Linked DNA regions of Homo sapiens: region 2 is linked to region 1. The links are contacts of gene promoters, found by promoter capture Hi-C in blood cells and fetal thymus (Javierre and others, 2016). All regions are on one chromosome and are shown on one strand. The core of a region is centred on a gene start or on the middle of the fragment in contact, and the rest is flanking DNA. Distances in the headings are between cores, read along the strand shown. Region 1 holds the start of GPR157 (G protein-coupled receptor 157). Region 2 overlaps H6PD (hexose-6-phosphate dehydrogenase/glucose 1-dehydrogenase).

Evidence for each region. Contacts are between HindIII fragments. The CHiCAGO score rates a contact against its expected background, and 5 or more counts as called.
Region 2: a contact is called between a fragment that was not itself captured here and the fragment with the promoter of GPR157 in region 1, in 2 of 17 cell types (M1 macrophages and megakaryocytes). The highest score is 5.6, in M1 macrophages.

Annotation. Positions count from the first base shown.
Region 1 is chr1:9,126,645-9,132,526 of GRCh38, reverse strand. It overlaps GPR157 (G protein-coupled receptor 157), which reads left to right and starts at 3,425. Exons shown (of 4, transcript NM_024980.5): 1 at 3,425-3,882. The coding sequence starts at 3,500. RefSeq lists enhancers at 1,548-1,637, 1,928-2,047, 2,068-2,137 and silencers at 2,839-3,158, 3,219-3,568. The HindIII fragment of the contact is 8,185 bases long and covers 1-5,882 here.
Region 2 is chr1:9,251,196-9,257,366 of GRCh38, reverse strand. All of the region lies in intron 3 of H6PD (hexose-6-phosphate dehydrogenase/glucose 1-dehydrogenase), which reads right to left. Among named protein-coding and RNA genes, the nearest start is that of H6PD, 20 kb to the right of the region's middle. RefSeq lists enhancers at 4,341-4,900, 5,163-6,085. The HindIII fragment of the contact is 204 bases long and covers 3,931-4,134 here.

The sequences.
Region 1 (5,882 bases), core at 2,176-4,675:
TCAAAACTCACTACAAAGCTACAGTAACCATAACAGTGAGGTATTGGAAAGAAACAAAACATAGATGCAAACCTTCATGAGTTTGGCATAGGTGATGGTTTCTTAGATGTGACACCAAAAGCACAAACAACCAAAGAAAAAAATGGACAAATTGGACATACTCAAAAAACACTTTTTTCCTTTGAAACATGCTATCAAGAAAGTGAAAAGACAAACCACAAAATGGGAGAAAATATTTGCAAATCATATAGCTGATAAGGGTGTAATAGCTAGAATATATAAAGAACTCTTGCAACTCAACAACAAAAAGACAAACCAATTTAAAAATAAGAAAGAAAATTGACCAGGTGTGGTGACTGACGCCTGTAATCCTAGCACTTTGAGAGGCCGAGGCGGGTGGATCACTCTAAGTCAGGAGTTTGTGACCAGCCTGATCAACATGGTGAAACCCCATCTCTACTAAAAAGACAAAAATTAGCTGGGCGTGGTGGCTGGCGCCTATAATCCCAGCTACTTGGGAGGCTGAGACAGGAGAATCGCTTGAACCCAAGAGGCAGAAGTCACAGTGAGCCAAGATCGCGCCATTGCATTCCAGCCAGGGTGACAGTGCGAGACTCAGTCTCAAAAAAAAAAAAAAAAAAAAAAAAGGAACAGAAGAAAGAAAGAGAGACAGAGAGAGAAAGAGAGAGAGAGAAAGAAAGAAAGAAAGTTGAACAGACATTTCTCCAAAGAGGATATGCAAATGTCCAATACACACATGGAAAGATGTTTGAGGGCATTATTCATCAGGGAAACGCAAATCAAAACCACAATGAGGAACAACTTCACACCCACTAGGATGGCTATTATCACAAAGATAATACAAAATGTAGGAAGGCTGGGTGAGGTGGCCTCACGCCTGTAATCCCAGCACTTTGGGAGGCCAAGGCAGGAGTTTGAGACCAGCCTGGGCAATACAGTGAGACCCCATCTCCAAAAAAAAAATTAGTGGGGCCCAGGCAAGGTGGCTCACACCTGTAATCCCAGCACTTTGGGAGGTTGAGGCGGGCAGATCACCTGAGGTCAGGAGTTCAAGACCAGCCTGGCCAATACAGTGAAACCCTGTCTCTACTAAAAATACAAAAATTAGCAGGTTGTGGTGGTGCACACCTGTAATCCCAGCTACTCAGGAGGCTGAGACAGGAAAATCGCTTGAACCCGGGAGGCAGAGGTTGCAGTGAGCCAAGATCACGCCACTGCACTCCAACCTGGGCAACAAGAGCGAGACTCAGTCTCAAAAAAAAAAAAAAAAAAAAATTAGTGGGGCATGGTGACATGCACCTGAAGTCCTAACTACTGGGGAGGCCAAGGTGGGAGAATTCTTAAGCCTAGGAATTTGAGACTGCAGTGAGCTGTGGTTGTACCTGCACTCCAGCCTCGGCGACAAGACCTTGTCTCAAAAAAAAGTTTTGGAAGAATGTAGAGAAATTGCGACCTTCATTGCTAGTGCAAATGTAAAATGATATGTACAGTCACTTTGGAAAACACCTTGGCAGTTCCTCACAAGGTGAAATATAAAGTTGCGTATGGCCCAGCAACTCCATTCCTAGGTATACACATAGGAGAATTGAAAACATACACCCACAAAAAAACTTGTATGCAAATTTTCATAGTGGTATTATTCTTAATAGTTAAAAAGTGTTAACAACCCAAATGTCCATCGGCTGATGAATAATAGCTAAGTAAAATGTGGTATATCCTGCCGAGCGCGGTAGCTCATGCCTGTAATCCTAGCACTTTGGGAGGCCAAGGCAGGCAGATTGCCTGAGCTCAGGAGTTCAAGACCAGCCTGGGCAACACGGTGAAACCCCACCTCTACTAAAATAGAAAAGAAATTAGCCGGGCGTGGCGGCGTGTGCCTGTAGTCCCAGCTACTCGGGAGGCTGAGGCAGGAGAACTGCTTGAAGCCGGGAGGCAGAGGTTGCAGTGAGCCGAGATCATGCCACGGCTCTCCAGCCTGGGCGACAGAGGGAGACTCCGTCTCTAGAAAAAAAAAAAAAAGGTGGTATATCCATATAATGGAATATTACGGGGCAGTAAAAGGAATGAAGCACTGCATATGCTACGATGAACCTTGGAAACGTGCTAAGTTAAAAAAGTCAGACATAAAGGCCACAGAGCATATGAGTCTATTTACAGGAAATGTGCAGAATAAGCAAATCCACGGTAGAAGAGTGGTTGCCAGGGCTGTCGGGGAGAACTGAGGGCTAACAGCTGAGGGATAAGGATTTCTTTTTGGGAGTAATGACAATGTTGTAGAATTACATAATAATGATGGTTGCACAAACTTGTGAACATACTACTGAATTGTTCGGTTAAGAGGGCCAATTTTATGGTATGTGAATTACATCTTAATTACAAAGTTTGAAATTTTTAAAGAAAAAGCCATGCCCTGCCTAGCATTTCATTTTTTAAAAATCACACCTAGTTAGCTATGGTTTTTAAAAAATAGCATGCTTATTTTAAGAAAAGGTGGAAACGCCGGCTTCCCCAAGTCACCACCAACTTGTGAACACGTCGGGATCACGGCTGAAGGAATGAGGATCATACCCGAGAGCTGTTTCTGTTGCTAGTGGAAAGAATGCCTCTGATCCTCACGCCCTTCCACTCACAACACACACAGAAGCTGGCTGAAAAGAGGGAAAGTAATATTAGCCCTAAAAATGCCAGCCCTTCCTCTCACAGGACTGGATGTCCCAGACACCTGGCAAGAGCAGGGGTGGGCCTGGAGGAGCGTGGAGGGACAGGTGCTGGGACCTGGGGGTGCCCTGAGGTAGGGCTTAGGGACCTAGGGGCTTAGGGGCGTGGTGTGAGGGCGTGGGCGGGGCTCAGGAGCCTCGGGCACCGGGTGGAGCTTGGAAGCCTCAGGGGCGTGGCGGGGGCGGGGCTCAGGGCCCGGGGCAACGGGACGAGGAAGGGCACCTGAGCCAGGGTCAGGGCCCGGAACACAGGGGTGTGGCGGGGTGCGTGGGCGGAGCGGGGCGCGTGGGTTAGGCTCTAGGCCCAGGTCTCTGGGCCCTGTGGACAGGGGATCGGGGCGCGTGGGCGGAGCTCTAAGTCCCAGTCTCAACGCGGGGGCACACGGGCGGGGGGGGGGCGTGTGGGCGGGAAGGGCATGTGGGCCGGGGGACGTGTGTCCGGGGCTCGGATTGTGGGCGGGGCTCAGGGCCTGGGACGGCGGGACGGGGCTGGGAGTGTAGGCGGGGCTTAAAGGCCGGGGTACCGGGGTGGGGCGCGGCGCGTGGGCGGGGCTCAGGGCCCGGGATATAGGGGCGGGGCGCAGGGCGTGGACGGGGTTCAGGGCCCGGGGCCCAGATGGGCGGGGGAGCGGCCGGACGCGGGCGGGGCGGGCGCCTGGACGCGAGCCTAGGGCGCCTCGGTGCCCAGACGGCGGCGGCGTGGCCGCACGCGCGGCCCGGCTTCTGTCCTCGCGGCGCTCCGGCTCCTGGCCCCCCACGCCATGCAGCCGTCCCCGCCGCCCACCGAGCTGGTGCCGTCGGAGCGCGCCGTGGTGCTGCTGTCGTGCGCACTCTCCGCGCTCGGCTCGGGCCTGCTGGTGGCCACGCACGCCCTGTGGCCCGACCTGCGCAGCCGGGCACGGCGCCTGCTGCTCTTCCTGTCGCTGGCCGACCTGCTCTCGGCCGCCTCCTACTTCTACGGAGTGCTGCAGAACTTCGCGGGCCCGTCGTGGGACTGCGTGCTGCAGGGCGCGCTGTCCACCTTCGCCAACACCAGCTCCTTCTTCTGGACCGTGGCCATTGCGCTCTACTTGTACCTCAGCATCGTCCGCGCCGCGCGCGGGCCTCGCACAGATCGCCTGCTTTGGGCCTTCCATGTCGTCAGGTGGGTGGCGGTGGCGCTGCTTTTCCAGGAGCCCCCGACACAGGCCGACCCCTCCCGGTCTTGCCCTCCCAGAGGCCGCGTCTAGGTTGGACACCCCCTACCCACAGCAAGCAGTGCCTGCTGGCGCCCCCGAGGCTGTCCTGGGCCAGCGGGAGGAGGCCAGCCTTGCCCGAGATTCGCTCCCTCCCGAAGGAGCCCCGCTGTGCCTGCCCCAGGGCACAGCCCCTTGGGGTAGTGGGGACAGAGTTCGCCCCCAGAGCCGGGCCCTGTTTCCTTGGACGGGGCTGGGGAGGACACTCTGAGCCCCTTGTGACCTGCTTCACTGTGTCCTGGCTGTCTCTGCTGCCCATGGGGAAACAGGCTGGGAGACGAGTTAGGTAACTGTCCCGGGCTGGAGAGCCGGCAACTGCCAGTCCCACGCCACCACCCCACCCCAAGCCACAGTGAGCTTGGTGCACTCCGCCACTCCCGAGCTGCCGTGTCTCTGCTGTACAGTTTACAAAGGACTGTGCTTTTTATTCTGTCTTTGGTCGTTTCTAGCCTCAGGCCCCAGCCCCTTGTATTTCTGTTCTAGATGATCTTGACTTTCCAGAGTTCAGCAATTCTGAGATTGAGGGCAGGGGCGGAGGGCTGGTCTGGGAGTCTCGGAGTCCTCCTGGAGTCTCTCTGAGAGTGGGGAAAAGCCAAGACCTTACTTTGCGATTCAAGCGTCTTTCAAGTAAGCCTCGCTGAAGAGGGTCGGCCCTTCCCTGGGGAATGTCAGGTTTTGAAAATCTCATGGCGTCCTGTGCTGTGCTGAACTGAGGGCAGGAATCCTAGGGGCTGTTTTCCTTTTCTCCTTCTCCCAGATCAGAGCATCAGATACTGCCCTAATTATAGGTCCTTTCTATTAAAAACTTAAGTGCATTCCAAGGACTGCGAGCACAGTCAGCACTTTGGCAGAGACAGGTCACCTGGGTGTCACACGGCAAGGCTACAGGGCTGTAAGAGTCGCTTGACCTTCAGTTGTGCACTGAGGCCGGCTGGTCCTTGAGAAACTAAGTGACCTGCTTCTCAGCTGTACAAGTAAAAAATCTTTGCAACACATCATCCAAACCGAGGCTCAGATGCTGCAGATGGAATAGGGCCCTGCCTTGCCTTGCCTTCCCGGCAGCATCCCATCTGACCCTGTCTGGGTCCCGTGATGGCTGGCTGGGTGTGGGCCCCGAGTACACGGGAGATCGTGTGTACTTGGAAGGAGTCGAGGCTGTACCTCTCTTTGCAAGAACCTGTTCTCTTTCCCTTCTTGTCTTTAAAAATATTGAATACAGTATTTTTTTAATGGTAACAGAACCTGGTCCAGCTTCTGTGGAAAAGAAGGATTGCCCAGCAAACCTGAGTTGGGGGTTTTTCTGTTCGGTTCTCATTACGGACCCTCTAGGGGGGTTTCTGTGTTGTTCAGGAAGGGCTTCTTTGATAAAGAAGTAGGCCCAGTGTGGTGGCTTGTACCCGTAATCCCAGCACTTTGGGAGGCCGAGGCAGGAGCATCGCTTGAGCCCAGGAGTTCAACTGGCCAACACAGTGAGGCTTTGTCTCTACTAAAAATTTAAAAATTAGCTGGGCATGGTGGCGCATGCCTGTAGTTCCAGCTACTTGTGAGGCTGAGGTGGGAGGATCGCTTGAGCCTGGGAGGTCGAGGCTGTAGTGAGCTATGATTGCAGACAGAGCAACACCCTCTCTCAAAAAAAAAAGAAAAAAATTTTTAAAAAATGAAGGAAAAAGAAAAGAAAAAACAAGCAACGTATTCATCTTGTCTGTTGAATGTGACCTGCCTGCATCTTAAAAGAAAATAAAATTATCTGTATCCAAGCTAGAGAGGGAGTTTGACAATTTATTCTCTGGAGTTCTCAGCACTCAGACTTCGCTAGTCTAAGGGAATTGGTTAAACCTGCCTAACAGGTTCATCTGTTAACCTAGATCTTCCCAGACTGTATTGCCAATGACCTTACTAAGGACTCTCC
Region 2 (6,171 bases), core at 2,783-5,282, 120 kb before region 1:
CCAGAGTCCAGGAGTTCAAGACCATCTTGGGCAACAAAGTGAGACCCTGTTTCTACAAAAAATTAAAAAAAAAAAATTAGCCAAGTGTGGTCCCAACTATTTGGGAGGCTGGGGTGGGAGGATTGCTTGAGCCCAGGAGGTCAAGGCTGCAGTGAGCTGTGAACCTGCCACTGCACCCCATCTGGACAACACCGCATGAGACCCTGTCTCAAAAAAAAAAAAGAAAGAAAAAGAAAACAGGATATAAAGTGACCAAAATAAACAGAACTTCAATAAATGAAAAATATAATTGGAAACTAGAAATTCAGTAGATGGGCCTTACAGATGAGAAACAGCTGTAAAGAGTCAGCTAGCAGAAGACAGAGCTGAGGCGATTCTCCCAAATGCTGGACACAGAGACAAAAAGATCCATGCTCGGACACATACAGGATGACTCTTGTTCAAAATTAAACAACAGGTTGTTTAGGGAACCAGGCGTGCATGGAAACAGAAAGAGAAGCGAGGGAATAATCTATCCACAATTTGGAAGTGTAAGATGAGGAAATAGGTCAGAACGTGGGGAGGGACACGCAGGAGAATCAAATTCTTTTTTAAAAACGGGTGGTAGGTGCATCCCCGTTTCTTATACCATAGTTCTGTATCTCTTCCATGCATTCTGTAAACTTTAAATTTACCTAGTATCTAGTTAACATTTAATTCCAACAGACAAAAAGCAGCAGATCCTAAGTTCAGGCCTGCTGAGCCCAGCATGCTCCCCTCCCAGCAGCCACTCTGGGTCCATGGCGCCAGTCCTGGGCACCTGCCCTGACCAGGTTGGTGGTGTGCACTCTCGGGCCAACCAGACAGCAAGCATGTCCAGGTCATGGCTGGGGGAACAACCTGCCCTGAATCCAGCCCGATATGCCATTCCCGACAGCAGCACCAGTGTTGGGGGGCAAGAAATGAAGCCGGCAGCCACTCGTAGGAAGGCACTCTGTCCCCGGCCATAACAACCAGGAGCTAGAGGGTGCAGCTCTGTCCAGGGATACTAAACCTTGAAATGAGCAGGAAGTCCAGCCCAACTGTGCCAACCAAAATGCCAAGAGTGGTCTCCACTGGGAAAACAATGGCTGAGATCCCCCAGCTCTGTAGTGTTGTGGCCTTCAAGTTCTTGTGCTATTGTTGAGAAGACATCCAGAAAAAGAGAAACTGATGCCAGCAATGTTTGTGGATCAGTCCATTTATCCTCAGAATAACAACATATAAGGAGGCCCCTCTATTTCCCCTATTTTAAAATATAAGGAACCTGAAGTTCAGAGAGGTTGGATAACTTACCCAAGGTCACACACAGCTGGTAAAGAGGTAAAAATAGCTTCAAACCCAGGCAGTTCGACCCAGAGCCTGCAATTCTTACCACCAAAACATTTCCCTTTTAATTACCCACTCTTCAACCCTACAACAGAACGGTGTGAAGTTGAGTGGCGTGGGCACCACTGGCCTTTAGAAACAGAGCACAATGAAGAAGCCGGCTGAGCTTCTGGAAGGAGGGGTCTAGGGCAAAGCTCAGAGATTCCAATGCCTACCGGGGCCAGCAAAAGCGAAAAGGATGGAGTAAGGCTGGTGTCCCTCAGAGGTACAGTTAAGTACCTCAGGTGCATTCAGGTGGTGCCTCACAGGAGTGTGGGCCCAGGGTGACCAAATCTTCCAATTCTCCTTTTCGGGAGAATGTAAAAAGACAATTCTTCCCTTCCCCTGCAATAATAGAACAGGAAAATCAGGAATATCTTGCATTTGAAAGGGACCTAAGGCCTGGCACAGTGGCTTATGCTTGTAATCCCAGCACTTTGGGAGGCTGAGGTGGGCAGATCTCCTGAGTCCAGGAGTTCAAGACCAGCCTAGGCAACATGGCAAAACCCCATCTCTACAAAAAATACAAAAATTAGCTGGGCATGGTGAAATACACCTGTGGTCCCAGCTACTTGGGAGGCTGAGGTGGGAGGATCACTTAAGCCTAGGAGGTCGAGGCTGCAGTGGGCTATGATTGCACCACTGCACTCCAGCCAGGGCGACAGATAAAGACCCTGTCTCCAAAAATAAAAAATAAAAAATAAATAAATAAATAAGAGTTATTGGCCTCAAACAGTTAAACAGAGTCATGATCCTCCAGCAACCCCACTCCTGGGTTTATACTCAAGAGAAATAAAAATGCAGGTCCACACAAAAGCTTGTACATGAATGCTCATTGCAGCATTATATATAACAGCCAAAAAGTAGAGGCAACCCAAATGTCCACTAACTGGTGACTGGATAAATTATGGTATATCTATACAATAAGATATTATTCAGCAGTAAAAAGAAATGAAGTGCTGGTACATGCTAGAACATGGGTGAACTCTGAACTCAGGATGCTAACTGATGGAAACCACACACCGTATGATCCTATATGTACAAAATATCCAGAACAGGCAACCCCGCAGAGAGAATGCATTTCTGTGGTTGCCAGGAGCTGGGGAGAGGGGGAAATTGTGGGATGACAACGAAGGGGTACAGGGCTTCCTTTGCCGTGATGAACATGTCCTAAAATTGATTGTGGTACTGACACACAACTCTGTGAATACACGAAAGCTCACTGGCCTGTCCACCTTAACTGGGTAAAGTGTAGTAGGATTTGTGAGTTACAGCTCAATAAAACTTTTTAAAAAAGGTTTTAGAACAGGGAAGCAGAAGCACGAAAGAGGTACTTCAGGAAGATGAAGCTGTCTGCGACCTCCAAGATGAACAGGATGGGACTGGTGGTAGTGAAATCAGTGAGGCAGCCTTTGCTGCCATCAAAGGAAGTAACAAAGGTAGGAGGGAACGAAGTCACAGTGAACTGCAAAGAAGTTATTATAGCAGATGAATACAAACTACTTGGTGACTGGCTGGATCCTTGAATGGTGGTACAGAGCTGTGATCTGGAGTGTGGTCTCTGGAGCCAGGCTGCTCCAGTTTATTTTATCTTATTTTATCTTATCTTATTTTGTTTTATTTTATTGGAGATGGAGTCTCCCCATTACCCAGGCTGCAGTGCAGTGGCGCGATCTTGGCTCACTGTAACCTTCGCCTCCTGGGTTCAAGCAATTCTCCTGCCTCAGCCTCCCGAGTAGCTGGGATTACAGGCACAAACTACCATGCCTGGATAATTTTTGTATTTTTAGTGGAGATGGGGTTTCACCATTTGACCAGGCTGGTCTTGAACGCCTGACCTCAAGTGATCCACCCGTCTCGGCCTCCCAAAGTGCTGGGATTACAGGTATAAGCCCCCGTGCCCAGCCTGCCCCGGTTTAAATACCGGCTCTGCCATCTTTCAGCCCTGTGATCTCCAGCAACTGACATCACCTCACATACGAACAAGCAACAATCCCCGCACCTCCCTTACAGGGCTTCTGTGGGCCTGAAGGAGTTAATATCCACACAGGGCTTGGAACAGTGGCTAGCACACAGGAAACACTGATAAAGACTGGTTGGAATTTTTCTTATGACAGATGCTGTAAGAGAAGGGCTACCAGCCTGGTCACTCAGAGAGCACTGTTCCCATTTGAAATAAAGAGGTTAGAAAACACAGTTGGTATTTCATGAGAAAAATGCAGTGATGGTTTTCATTCTAAATCTGCTGAATCTGAAGGGATGGTGCAACACCCCATGAAATGATCTAAAAGGCGGCTGGAGGTATAAACTAGGGCCTGGGGAGACAACGCACACTGGAGATAAACTGGATTTCATCAAACCTGAAATGCCATCAGTGGCGGAAGCATCGCTGTTTTATAACCCCTAAGAAAGAAAAGGGTTTCCAGTTCCACTATGTCACCCTATTAAGGATAAACCCAACTTCAGAGACGTCCAAATATGAAAAAAATGTCTTCCAATCAATGAATTACAGTGGATTTATATGTCAACAGCATACTTAAAGCTTTAAAAACAGATGAATTTTTGATGAAGGGAACACAACAGAGTCCCTAAAAGCCCTGTTATCTGCTTACTATTCATTAATGTAGCGAATCCCTAAGCGGCCCCTTTCCTATTTTTATCCTCTCTCAATTCTCAAAAAGAATGCATTCCACGGGTTTACTACCTGCTGGGTAAAAGAGAGCTTCCTTTATTCCTTAATTTCAAGCTTCAGGGGGTGCGCCTGTGTTTAACACGGCCTGTAGATTTATGGACTTTGCCTGGTTGGCTCCGTCTTTTCAGAGTTTAATGCAGTGACTGGGACTGTGGCCTGGCACCTCCCTGGGAAGAGGCCATGCAGCTGAGTGCAAGGACAGGAGGCGAGGGGCTGGCCCTCCTGCTGATGTTGATCTTTTCTAGTTACTGCCCGTTATTGTGGACTGATTTCTCCTAAAAATGATCTATATTGGCTCCTAGTGTATTTTCCCGGGTTGAAAGTTGAGGGTTGAAACCCATCAGTATATGAAAAGGATAGAGAAAAGCACAACCAGGGTGGACACTGGGAGGAAAGACCCCCTGTAAACTTGGCTCCCACCTGTGCACATCCAGAGCTCGTCCAAGGTCAGAGGATGACAAAGCAGGGGGGCCATGGCTGTGCCCGCCAGCTGTGCTGCTCAGACTCATAACAGAGAGTAACAGCTAGAAAGCACTTCTCCCCTTTGGCCCCGTCATTCTACTGCCGAAGTATATACTTAAAGGGAATATGTTTTTTAAAATGCTCATAAATGTTCTCGAATTAGATAGTAGTTGCATAACTTTGTAAATATACTAAAAACCACTTAATTTTATATTTTAAAAGCGTAAATTTTGTGGTATGTGCATTGTATCTCAATTTTAAAAAAAGCTCACAAAGTACCATCTAAGATAGAAGCCGGGGAGGTGGGGCACTCCTGTAGTCTCAGCTATTTGGGAGGTTAAAGCAAGAGAGGATCACTTGAGACCAGGCGTTCAAGACCAGCCTGGGTAACATAACAAGACTCCAAGATAATAATAATAAAATAGCAAAAAACTAGAAACAACCAAAAAGCTTAATAAAAGAGTTTATAACACATATTCTGTGGTATGAACAGAACTGAACAGAAATATAAATATTAAAAGGTATATGTTGTGCAGACTGCTAATACATAGAGATTTAAGTATGTATACAACTGTGTATGTATATGTGAGAGAGAAATATGACATAAAGAATGGACATAAAAGTATGACAGATCAATTACAGGATTTATATAATAATCCAATATAAGTCACGTGGAACTCAGACACACTGCAAGAACACTGCCGCTGCCTCTCCTTGCAAACTTGGAAGAACAACAACACTTCCATTTGTAACGTATTTCCGTGTGCATTATCTGATTTAATCCTTAGAACTACCCGAGAGAGAGAGGTGCCGGGGCTATCAGCATTGTATAGATGTGCGCTGAAGGTCACAGCCTTCAGAACCGGGACCAGAAACCCCTTCCTCGTTGCTTCCACATTGTGGGAAATCCAGGTTTTCTCAACAAAAATAGATTAAAAAAAAAAAAAAAAGACAACTAAGAGCCAGCTGCAATCCCCATCAACACCTTCTGGGATTACTAAAAATAAAAAGAGGTGAGGGCCAAGGAGAGCACAGTGTGCTTGCTGGTGCTCTCTCTGGACAGGAGATCCGGCAGCTGCCCTGGGCTCACCTTGCAGACAGCTCTGCAGAGGGGGCGGGAAGGGGAACCGGCCCTGCTGAGTGAGCTCCTGGCCCCTTCTGGCACACCAGGCTGGAAGGCGGGACAGCTGGTGTGTGCCTGGAAGGACCCTGGATGCCCTGGTCCCTCGGTGAGAGGCACTGAACGGTCACTCCAGCCCTCAGAGGTGGGCAAGCATCAGGCTCCTTTCCCCCATGTCAGGACAGGGACCCTCCCAGCAGTGATGTCCTCAGGAAGTCTCCCTCCTTCTTTCTAACAACAACAACAACAACAACAACAACAACAACAACAGCAGGCCTTCTACACAGAGGGGAAACTAGGGCAGCAAGGAGACTGGCCCTGAGTGCGTTCCAGCAGGGAGGCCAACTGCTGAGGGCCTGGCCAGCTGGGGAGGCTGTGGAGCTCAGTGGTTAGAGGCTCAGGCTCTGAGGTGCCAAGACCTCAGTTCCAATTCCAGCACTCCCGACAGAAAAGGCAGCCGGACCCAGACAGCTGAACACAGCCCATTAATCACATGGGCCCGCCTGTCTGC